Linked DNA regions of Homo sapiens: region 2 is linked to region 1. The links are contacts of gene promoters, found by promoter capture Hi-C in blood cells and fetal thymus (Javierre and others, 2016). All regions are on one chromosome and are shown on one strand. Each heading gives the region's core, a stretch centred on a gene start or on the middle of the fragment in contact. The rest is flanking DNA. Distances are from core to core; before and after follow the strand shown. Region 1 holds the start of DPYS (dihydropyrimidinase). Region 2 overlaps RIMS2 (regulating synaptic membrane exocytosis 2).

The links. Contacts are between HindIII fragments. The CHiCAGO score rates a contact against its expected background, and 5 or more counts as called.
Region 2: a fragment that was not itself captured here is called in contact with the fragment with the promoter of DPYS in region 1 in 1 of 17 cell types (monocytes); the score reaches 8.5 in monocytes.

The regions. Positions count from the first base shown.
Region 1 is chr8:104,462,777-104,469,382 of GRCh38, forward strand. It overlaps DPYS (dihydropyrimidinase), which reads right to left and starts at 4,279. Exons shown (of 10, transcript NM_001385.3): 1 at 3,881-4,279. The coding sequence starts at 4,144. LOC105375691 (a long non-coding RNA gene) reads left to right here and starts at 2,994. Exons shown (of 3, transcript XR_928507.3): 1 at 2,994-3,211. RefSeq lists an enhancer at 6,033-6,606. The HindIII fragment of the contact is 2,857 bases long and covers 2,249-5,105 here.
Region 2 is chr8:103,818,574-103,824,442 of GRCh38, forward strand. The region is part of intron 6 of RIMS2 (regulating synaptic membrane exocytosis 2); the gene reads left to right. Among named protein-coding and RNA genes, the nearest start is that of RIMS2, 320 kb to the left of the region's middle. The HindIII fragment of the contact is 3,695 bases long and covers 1,228-4,922 here.

The DNA.
Region 1 (6,606 bases), core at 3,029-5,528:
CCCATTGAATAAAAAATTCCATTGTCCTTCCTCATAGATATTGAATTATCTGAAGACCACTGTACATCTGGTATAGACCAACAAAATGAAATATGATTTCTTTAAAGCAGAACATTATTTCCATTAGTTACTTCAGAAAGCTTTTACCTGTAATTAAGCTAATCAATTATAGGCTTTAAACCAATCTCTGACATGAATTAGATTTACAAAATAAATAACCTTTAGTTAATGTATATTCATTTTTAAAATTGAGTCCCATCACAATCTAGTGATCGATAAATAGAGTACCACAAATAATATCCTTTTGTATTTGTCAGGTATTATAAATGATCAGCCTGCTGGATGTAGAATGCAAACAGCTATTGGTCTAAACTTTAGGGGCCCATTTCCTGAAAGTATAATATATCATTTTTACTTTATGCTTTTTCTGTACTTAAGGTCCATTTCTGTACCCTTACAAATGATATGGCTATAAATGTATGTATTATACAAATGCCTTATAAACTGAATACCTGCAGTGTGTACTTATTTTGATAACCTTAACTGCCTCTAGCTTTAGGAAAGTGAAGAGTTACTGTCTTTTCTAAAGACGGCTCTGCTCTATTTTTGAGAAAAGATGCCTCGCATTAAAATGCAACTTATATGGCTCTGTCATCTATCACTTGCCACCCTGACAAATCTGAACATTATATGTTTTTTCAAAAGAACAGACACTAATAGGTAACAGCTTTAGCGACGGGGTCAGGCAGTACTAAATTTGAAGAGCCACTCAGTGAGTTACAGCCCTAGGTGTACAACCTTAGGCAGGTAGCTTAAGCTTCAATTTCCTCAATTGTAAAAAAGTAGACAATGGCATCTGGGATTTTTGGAAGATAATGCACAACTTAGGGCATTGGCTGGTATGTACTTGATAAAATAGATGTTACTTAAAGGTATAATAGGAAGATGTTTTTCAAGTTTAACATATCATACAACCAGTATTTACAAAAGGCCTATCTTTGTCTCTAGCTCCCCAAAACAAACACCCACCAGCGTTGCTTTGGGGATTATTGCAAAGGCCAGGAAAGAAGACAAAATAACTCTATAATGCCTTTCTTTCAGAATTCAGGTCAATACTGTAATGTTTATGTTTATCTATATTTCCCCATCTGGTTCACTTTATGAAGCCTCAGCTGTTTCGGGGGGTGGGAGTGGTTACCTCTTGGGATCCAACCAACTGACTCTGAACTAGACTATTGCAACACAGCCCCTTTGTAAGTACTGTTTAATATTCAACAGGAATTTGGTATTTGCTAAACCTTTGACCTTAATATCTCTGACCGTATCATTTTTTGTTTAAGATCCTAAGCTCATGAAGAACATGTTTTTGTTTAATGTTTTCACAACCTTTAAGTACAGAAATGCTTAGAGGATCAGCTGGTGGATAAATCCTTTGAGATGTTGACAACAGACTATACGCCATAAGGACCTACATTCTCAGTTAAGAATTATAAATCTCTCTGAACTAGAGAATCCCAGAATGGCTAAGGAAAAGATAGAAGACCAAGAACCACTTCCCAGGACCTTGGGGCACGCAAAGATAATCTTGAGAAAGAGAGGGAATGCCCCTCCCCCACAGCATTCCACTTCCTCTTCTTTGCTGCTTCATCTGGAACCCTGATGGCAGAAAGAGAATGAAAGCTACTGCTCAGCTGTAAGAGGGAGAATGATGCTAGTGGGCAACTCATGGTCAGAAATAGCAGCTCCCCACCTTGCAGGTGGGAGTGTTCAATGGGATGCCCTGCCATCAGCAAAGCACTTTGTTAATGATAAGTCTGTAATAACAGAAAGGGCTTGCACTATGACTGAAAACTGCAAGTTCTGACATTTTAAATATAGGTGTACACACACAGACACATGCACAATATGATATCGATTATGTAAAATAGAGCATGCTAAAAAGCATAAAGGCAATACACCAAAACATTGGCTGTCACTGAGAGGGAGAGTATTATTAATGTTTTGCTTCTTTTAATTTTCCTATTATTTTTCCAATTGTTTCCTACAATCACATATTGTTTTGATAGCTAAAAAATTCTTTAAAATGGAAAAATAAGTTCATTCAAATTCAGTGCATATTACTTTTTAGCAAAAGGGAAAAATGAATAAACAAAACAAAGTTTGCTAATTTTCAAACCATACAACAATCTGTCCTACAAAAGACTTTATTGACATAAAGATATAGGTTGATAATTAGTAATCAGGAAGAAGCTTTCCAAATGGTGATTTGAGCAGCCTGCCCAGATCCTTCTCTCTGGGTCAAATCTACCTGCCTTCCTTTTTTTCTGTTAATCATTCCAGTCAATTATAGAGGATTGGGGAACTTGGAGAGGGGGAGGTGTAAGGAGAGCAAAACTGTCAGAAATCAGTATATGAATGAAGTAGCTATCACCAAAACTGCTTTGGAAGACTGTCAGCCTGTCCACAGTAACATGGGAATAGAAAGAAAGAGAGGGGTGGAGGGGGTAGTGGGGGGAGAAAGAAGGGAGGGAGTGATGGAGAGAAGGAGGGAGGGAGGAAGGAAGCCTACTATACACTGGACTTAATAGCCCAACTTGTTTCACACATCAAGGTATGGTCCAAGTGAAAAGCCAAGGCCTTTAGTATATCAATACATCTTCACTTTGGAAGGAGCCATTTCTCTCAAGGCAGCTCAAAACACAGGACTTAGGGAGGATGTGGGCTTTACTTTAGCCCAAGTGCTGAGAGTAGAATTTTTACTCTATGTTCCTGTAAAGCTGCTCTGTTAGTCTCTTGATCTTGTGTTGAGGAGCTTTGGGGAAATGTTGCAGGGGTGTCCAATCTTTGGCTTCTCTTGTCTTGGGCCACACATGAAATATACTAACACTAACGACAGCCAATGAACTAAGAAAAAAAATCTCATAATGTTTTAAGAAAGTTTATGAATTTGTGTTGGGCCGCATTCAAAGCTGTCCTGGGCTGCATGCGGCCTACAGGTTGGACAAGTTTGGTTTAAGTTTCCTTTCATTGACCCAAACTTCTAGGCCTTTGTATCTAGAGAAACCCAAGCCTACCTTCACCTGGGGAGTGGTGATCTGATTACCCTCCTGCAACATCAGTAAAACTATGGGTACTCCAGCAGCAAGAATGTTGTGTCCCCAGCGCAAGTGGGATGGAGAAAAGAGCCTGCTGCGAGGCTGCGTTGGTGTGTGTGAGTGTTGCGAGATCATTTCTGGAATACTTTCTCTTCTAAACCCTGGTCGGGGCTATATTTTTTCTACTGGGGGTGGGAGTGGGGGCAGAGGGTAGGGGACGGGAACGTGAACACGGTGGGCATCTAGCCTACTCAGACACATTACCTGCTACACTGCTCACTTTGAGTCAAGGCTGTAACTACCAGGTGAATGGATTTTTCATTTGGTTTTGGTTGGGGATAAAGGATGGGTCGAAATGGTTGGGAGAAATGGCTGGAAGTGCCTACTTTAAAAAAAGATTCTAAAGAATGTATGGAAGATTTGCGACTTCCACAGAACACCAATCAAAATGGGGTTGCGGGGAGATTTGGGGAGTAAGCGGTATAGAGAAATTAGGGTAAGGGGATGGCCTTAAACTCGTCAAATTAACCACTAAAGGAGGAGTCGAGGGCATCTGGTTGAGCCAAGGCTGCTCGGCTGCCGCCGAGAAGGGGCGCCTGAAAGGGACCCCAGCGAAGAGAATCTGAGTCCCCTCTGACACCCGCCGGGGCTGCGCTCCTTCCCGCCCACCCAGCTCCTCGGCGCCGCGCCGCGCGAGGCGGCCCTGCTGAGGACCCCGGGACGACTGGGGAGGCTGCCCGAGCCTCCGTGGGTACCGCGGGGCGGGGGCGCGGCGGGGCGGGTACCTTGGTGCCCTGGTGGAAGTCGTCGATGGACCGCGAGCCCATGAAGGGGAACTGCATGTGCGTGTGTGTGTCGATGCCTCCGGGCAGGACGAGCTTGCCGGCGGCGTCGAGGACCCGCAGCCCCGCAGGAGCGCCCCCGGGAGGCAGCAGGTCGTGCCCGAGTGCCCGCACCACGCCGTCCTCCACCAGCACGTCGGCCACCTCCGAGAAGTCATCGTTGACCACGCGACCCCCGCGGATCAGGAGCCGCGAGGGCGCCGCCATAGCGAGGGGCGCGCGGGGTCCTACTCGGCCCGGGCTGCGCGCAGGGGCTGGGTTGGGCGGGCCGGGCGGGCTTGGGGTGCCCTCCTGCAAGGTCCCCACCGACAGCCCCCGAGCTCTGCCTCAGGCTGCAAATCCGGAGCCCGGCGGCCTGACGGGTTTATGACCTGGCCGCATATGCGGCTCCTCCCCCCGGGAAGGCTGGGCTGGAGCCCAAAGGCCGGGATTGAACAGGTCCGCATGGTCCTTGCACACTCAGACCCCAAGTGTTCTGCGCCCTGAGTTGAGGTATCCACCCAGGCTTCGGAGTCATTGGAAGGGAAAGATCTTGGAATTTTAAGAGAAAGGAACCTGCGTTTTTCATCATAAGATTAGGTGCTAAAGGGAAAGAAATCCACCTCACCCTTTCCCTTGGTTGGGGGTGTGTTTGTACCAAAAGACAGATCCAGAGGGAGAAAGAAAGCAAGAACCATCACTAGAAGCAGCAACAAAAATACCCAAACCCACCCAAGCCAGAACAGAGCCACTCGATCTGGGTTTCCTGTTAAATGTTCTTAAGCGAGGAGCAAATTATCATATAATCCCAGTAATTGGCAGACACAGGGAAGGATCAGAGTAAAATATTTAATGTATTTGAAAGAAAACGACTTGGTGTCAACTATTCTCCACAGTTTAATGATACAACACATACCAGCAAGTGTTTCTTGGAAAATAACCGGTACTGTAACTCTAAAGATTTAAATTTCTACTCCCAGCTTTTCCACAAAACCAGTTTAGAGATCTTCAGTTAAATCTTTTATTCTCTTGGTTCCTCAGTTTTCTCATATATAAAATTGATTAATACTTGTTCTTGCCTTCCATATTTGCTTTGAGAAGCAAATATGATCATGGCTGTGAATACACCCTAATAAAGTGGGAAGCACCATGCAAATTCACTTAAATACTGGCTTTGTAAGGACTACAAAGCTTACCTGACTAGGGGGATTGGCTAGAGGGCTAAGTGGGAAAGATAAACCACATTTCCACCCTCAAGTAGCTAACAGCCAACAGTGACACACATTCATATTTCAATATATAAAACAGAACATTCTATCTTTGAGAAGGGATAAAGATAAGAATTTAGAGGAAAGAGTGAGTTTATTTCTGGCTTAAAGACATCAGATATGGAAGATTTGTGAAGAGGTATTTGAACTAGGATACAGAGAATGTGAACACGCAGAGGTGAGTGGTGGGAAGAGGACATAGTGCTCCAGGTAGAGTGAACAGAGCGTGTAAAGGCACAGAGAGGATGAAGGAATGCACTCCCTGTGGTTAAGCTATGAGGGATAGGCTTACACTGAATCCTGGACCATCCCTTTGCTTATAGGGGAGGAGGAGGAAGAAGAGACAGAGTGGTCAGAGAGAAGGGAGACCACAGGTCTGTGTGATGGAAGGCAGGAATGCAGAATTTTAAGAAGGGCAACAGGATGGAATCTTGCAAAAGGGTTATGAAGGGTCATGGGGAGGTGGGGTGGACATCTGCTGACCAGGCATATATTCTTGTCCTTATTCTGGTAACAGTCACTGGCATTTCTTTGGTGGGAAATCCTCTGCCTGAAGTCTCAGAACACTTGTTTTGGAGAAACTGATGGTGAGAGACAGGACTAGCTGGATTTCCTAGGCTGACTAAGAATTCCTAAGCCTAGCTGGGGAAGGTGACTACACCTACCTTTAAACATGGGGCTTGCATCTCAGCTCACACCCTACCAGTCAGGTAGTAAAGAGGGCTCACTAAAATACAAATTAGGTTAAAAGCAGGAGGTAAAGAAATAGTCAAATCATATATCACCTGAGAGCACAGGAGGAGGGACAATGATCAGGATATAAACCCAAGCATTCCAGCAGGGAGCGGCAACCCCCTTTGGGTCCTCTCCCATTGTATGGGAGCTCTGTTTTCACTCTATTAAATTTTGCAGCTGCACACTCTTCTGGTCTGTGTTTGTTACGGCTTGAGCTGAGCTTTTGCTCACCATCCACCACTGCTGTTTGCTGCCGTCACAGACCCGCCGCTGACTTCCACCCCTCTGAATCCAGCAGGGAGTCCGCTGCGCTCCTGATCCAGCGAGGCGCCCATTGCCGCTCCAGTTCAGGCTAGAGGCTCGCCATTGTTCCTGCATGGCTAAGTGCCCGGGTTTGTCCTAATCTAACTGAACACTAGTCGCTGGGTTCCGTGGTTCTCTTCCTTGACCCACGTTTTCTAATAGAACAATAACACTCACTGCATGACCCAAGGTTCCATTCCATGGAATCCATGAGGCCAAGAACCCCAGGTCAGAGAACAAAAGGCTTGCCGCCATCTTGGGAGCGGCTCACCACCATCTTGAGAGCACTAAGAACAAAGACCTGCCTGTAACAATGGGACCTCTAGCTCTGCAACTGAGCTCTCACCTAGACTCTTCCAATCAAGGCAGGGAATCCTCAAACCA
Region 2 (5,869 bases), core at 1,825-4,324, 650 kb before region 1:
TCTGGCCTTGACTGTAGGGTTTTTCCCCCACCTGGATTTGGAGGGAAGTTTTAATTTAATGTGTGGTGTTTAGGTGAATTTTAATTGAAAAGCTATAATGTTTTTCTAAAATTATGTGAATAACCATGTAGTCACTATGTATATAGCCTTTAGAAAGGACCAGATTCAACATTATCCACTTTTCTTTAAAAATAAATAAATGGAGAAATTTTAAAATAAGAAATTAAAACACCTAAGTACATGTTTTCCAAATGTACTTCTCTTAGAAATATGGCATTTTAAATGCAGATGATAAATGCTCTATTGTTGATCATATTTTTATTGCTTCATGACATCAAAAGAAGAATATACCACTTATTTTTAGAGTGTTCTGGTCCTTTGCAGCATCTTGCACATTGAAGAGATATATGCTGTTGCTGGAGTTGTTTTTCAGGAAAAGAGAAAAGGGTTGGGGAAATGCATAATTTCTCTTACTCTTACCCAGTAGTAGCATTGAGAAGATACCTTGTCCCCATTTTTATTACTTCTGATATTTTATTGCTGGCAGCCAGATGTGCTAAAACTCCTGACGACAGCATCTATTCATTGCATGTTTTTAATAGGCTTAGAGAAATATGAGTAGAGTACATGAAAGCAGCTCAGCTTCACACTTCAGCTGGGAATGCCCAAAAAGCTTACTGCTGTTTAGAATTCTTGCTACAGTCAGGAGAAAGCCGAAAGCTGCACGGGTACTGAATCTTCTACGACTGAATTAGAAGAATAATGACTGTACAATTAACTATCAACCTCTGTTCATTTAAGCACAGTTTTTACAGAGCTCAGGAGAAATATGGAACTTGATTGGCGTGTTTTTATTTGATGGTGTCAGCAAATAGATGATTTTAAAGACAGGTGGTAGGGAAAAATAAGAGAAGGGGAAAAAAAAAGAAAGAAAATGCAATTTGAGACATTGCGCCAGGTCTGCAATTCTGTTTTATCTCATTTTCATGGGGTTTTTTCATCCCCACCAAATATCTTACAAAATGAGCTTTTTGGACAAACACTGAACAATGCAAGGTGAGTAGAGCCAAACTATATTTTCTTTTAATATTGTTATTTTCAGAATAATCTTATATGCCAGTAAAAATTGTTTTGTATTGAAGTGCTAGTGTTATAAAGGTGTTATCTGTTTACTGTAAATATAAAATTTTATATAGCATTCTTAATTTGATTTTAAGAAGGAAAATAAGCTTACTTCAACCAGAAAAAGCATCTTAAATTTAACTAGCTTGACCTCTGAAACGTAATACAGATATCAGGCTGTTTCATTATTTTGTTTTCTAGATACATAAAATGACTTAAAAATGCCCGATAGATGTTTTCTTTGTGATCATGGCAGTGATTACATTGCATATATAAGGATGGGGCTATATAATCATATGTGATTTGTTTGAAAATGTGAATTAGCTCCTGTAAAACATGTGGAAGATGTTTTCTAGGTTTAAGACATTTCTCTATGCTGGGTAGCTCAATAATCACTTTTAAACAAGATATATTGTGGAACCGCGAATAATGCTTTGCATTAGGTCAGCTAATTTGGCAGGATTCTTTGTTATAAATTCCTATTGCTTTTTCAACCTGATCATTTTTCTATGGTGAAGGCTGTTAAATTATGAACATATCTCTCAGATGGTTTCTCTGGCTTACACTAAAAGATATTCTATTAAAGAATGTTTTTGGAATGCAGTTTTATCATCCAGTTCTTTCCTCATTTAAGTTGTTTGGCTTTTGAGAATTTCTCATGTTACATGCTTAGTAAAAAAAAGACCCCATTTAACTAAATATATGTGGAGAAGACTGAGAAAGAAATTCTGTGAACATGGCAATGCACTGAAACCTTCTGGAAACCGATGGGGAACTAATAGTGCATAAAATATTGAGTGGTTTTACTTGTCTCTTCTTCTTAGTATCTCTGAACAATGTGAGGCATCCTATTTTGGAGATTAAAAAAATACCGGTTATACAATATGTATTTTAATTTAGCAAATGAAAAAAAGGCTTTTAAAATTTGTTGGCATTTAAAATGTTTACTGATGATAAATATATTTATAACCTTTACTTTGAAAATGGGATAACATATCTATTTCTTATAAAATTTCACTTTCTTTCCTCAATCCAGTTCTGTTCAATAAACTAATTGGATTTTGTTTATATTTTATCTTGAGACAAATTAAAAACATCAAACAGTATATGAAATGTTAGGATATTCTAAATTGGATATCTGTATTTTAAGATGCTGTTTTCCTTTTTTAAAGTGATACATCACTTTAGTGTCTATAATTTATCATAAAAATATATATTTTATGTTATATTTAAATTAAAAAGCAAGTATTGCTTTCTAAAAATTTCCATGACCTGAAGCTACCAGAGTTTTAGGATTTGTACTCATCCTTTATAAACCTTTTCCTTGTTTTAGTTCCATCTTTTTTTTTAATGCCAAGAATTTGTGTGTAAATGTATTAATATTAGGGTTTAGGTATAGAAATTATGCTATTAACAGCATAGTAAGGAATTGGTTTTAAAGTATTAATTTAAAAATCTGAAAATAACTATTTTTTGAGGGAATTGTGTGCATCCCTATCACTGTGTACTTGCTTTGGCTTCAAGTTTCTTTTATTGTTGGCATGCCTATAATTTCAGTAAGAGCCTTTAAAGCTCTCATTAAAATCTGGACTTTTATGCTGCTGCTCTTAAACATAAGATTATGAAGTTTTTAATGCTTCTATACGACCAGTATGGTTTAACTTATATTGATTATTATCTAAAACTATCCCAAACTACCAATTACTCGATAAGTAATTTATCTTGCTTTAGGGGAAAAAAATCTCGGCCTTTATATGTTCTTATTAGTCTTTAAAAATCATTTGCCCTTATACCACAAATACATCTATGCATCTTCATAAATGTCCCATCAGCTACTTGATTTACTTTTAAGGTCAATCAAAAAGTTCTGCAAATAGTTATTGTTTTAGAAGTATGATGAGTGAAAAAATAAGTATATGAATTTTATGCTTCCACATATTTTAATTTTTTGGTTATTTTTTGTGTTCACTTTAGATACAAGGGTCTTTTAAACCTTTTATTCTGCTTATATTCTTTTAAACAATATAAATGCCTATGCATCCTGCATAGGTATTAACATTTTAATTAACACTAAAGTGGAAAGTAAAGACTTTCCACTTTAGTATAGACTAAAAAATTATTCTTGAAGAAAAAAATCATGGAAGAAGAATGGCCTGAATATGTCATCAAAAGATCTCATATGCAAGAATTTAGATTTTTTTTCTGAATAATGGACCTTTCAATTAGACATCTGTGATCTTCTTAAGCATCAATTATATAACTATCACCTCTGGAAAGAACAGTTTTGGTTATTAGTACATGAATAGTAATCATTTAATTGTTTGGACTAGTTGACATGGAATATTCAATATTTGTATTGTGACATTAACAATGATCTTTAAATTGATAGAAAAAAGCCATCAATTTGGACAATTAGATATTTTATTCTGAATTGCTTTCTAGTAGGGATTACTAGAATAGTACTATGCATCATTTGTAGACAATGTATTATTAAAAGGGGGCCTTTTCAAGTAGTTTTTAAACTAAGACTTTTGTTCGGTAGCTAATCTTATCCCCAAATCTGCAACTCAACTTTCATTAGGATTTTAGATGGTGAGGCAGTTGACTTCTATGACATATTAGCAATAAAACATTAAATGATGAAAATCTTCCATAACAACTGCTCCAGAAACATTTCCAAGTTCAACTTGTTAAAGGAGGAAAGATTTTTAAACCAACCAATAATACTGTATGTGTCATAAGTCCCCAAAGTGGAGATTAATATAGATTCTTAAGTGAATTAATTAACTAATGATTAAATGAAATTTATCTATGAGTAATAATTATTAAAATATTTTAGACTAACTTTTTGTTGGAAACCATATAGCACAAACCTTATTTTCATACTGAAAGTGTTTAGCTTATTCTCTTATTGTATGGTTCTTGAGTACCATTTTAGTGCATGAAGCAGGATTCTCTGTTCTTTTACAGCTAAAATGAAACAACTGGACGTCTAGCAAAAAGAAAACATGTGTCTGCATCCTGCATAAACTCACTTGACTCACTTGATAGGTTTTGATGAAATGCCACTTTAGTTTAATTTTTTGTTATCAAGTTTTCTCATTGTAAACTCTCTCTCAAGTGAAATTATTTAATCAGGACACAAAGATAAATGCTTTTGTCATTAGTAAAAAAATCAAGTACTGAGTTCAATATGAAATCTAATTTTTGTGAGCTTGTCTTTGGAAGCAAACATAAATATTGAGACGCTAGAAGATATATTTTTTAGCATTGTTCACTGCATTGAGTTATCAGTTGCTTTGGGCAATATTCAAATAAACATGCTAATGATGGCTATCTTTTGTGATAAAATTGATCCTCTGAGTTTTTCCATTTGCTAATTTTTAGCCGTCTTTTTTATACAACGAAGAGATCTGTATTTTCCTCTAGATGAAATTATTTTTTTGCCACTGAATGTGTGACAGTGAATTTGCTGTGACTTCTGGCCACACAGAGGCATAATAAAACTGGAATTTATTTAGAGTAGATATTAAAAACAGTCTTTCTCTCCGTATACGTACAATGAGATATGTAGACTTTCATATTTAAAAGTAAGAAAAGAAAAAATATTAGTAGACAGAAGAATATTTGGATTTTTTTTCAATTGCAAGTAAGATAACCATACGATCCACTTTGTCTGGAGTACTCCCAGTTTATGCCTGCAGTCATCCAGTGATTATTATTAGTACTATTCTCTCTAAAAAGTGTTGTGATTTGAAAATAAATTACAGGGCTACTCTAATTATAAAAGTGAAATGTAAAGCTTAAATTCACTTAGTTTAAGCGGATTCTTTTCCTTTGAAACATTGCCACTGTTCTAAAACATTAATATTTTAAGTAAAATCTGACTTGCTAAATAAATGTTTATTTAGTATTATTTTTGGTCAGAAATTCTTAGTTTTTCCTGTAGCATTTATTATTGCTTTGGTTTGTAATCAAACCAGTAATTTGTGTTCAGGAATTTTGGCACAGATAATGATTCTTCATCATGGTACGTTAATGACTACTTTGACATTGAAAGAACAGCATGCTTACTTTTCATAGTTCTCAGGGTGCAATCTACACAGTGTGCATTGTTTGGACTTGGTATGATTCCAGCACAGTTGATTTTTCATATTGCATGAAAAGTCTGTGTTATGAGGTATAAAGCATCCAATCATCTAATATACACATTTTATGTACATATATATATACTTTATTGAACATGCATAATTGTTATTATAAAATATTTTTATAACTATAACATTATTCATTATAGGCATAAAAGCTTATAACACAATTAATTATCTATTTAGATTTCTAATCAAAATGGCTTTTGATTTAGATATGTGTGTCATTAGTATTTTCACTAGAATATTTACTGTGGACCTTAGCAATATACTACAATTATTAGTATATGTCCTTAATCTGACACTGATCTACAGTCTTTAAGCATTTTCTTTATTGAAAGAAGTTTTATAAAGCTTCTGCTTTTGGTGATGACTGACAGGTAAATGTTAACTATAGTTTTAAATTATCAACTTCTGTATGATCATAAAGGATTTTAAAAGTTGAAAATAATTACTAGTAAACTTCTTTAATTCTGGCACTACTCACTAAATAGTAAAATGAATTCATTTCATATGGGCTATAGGCTTTCTTCCTATCCATGTATGAATTACTCACAAAAAATTCATGGCCCCAACAAAAGAATTCCTAGGACTCATCC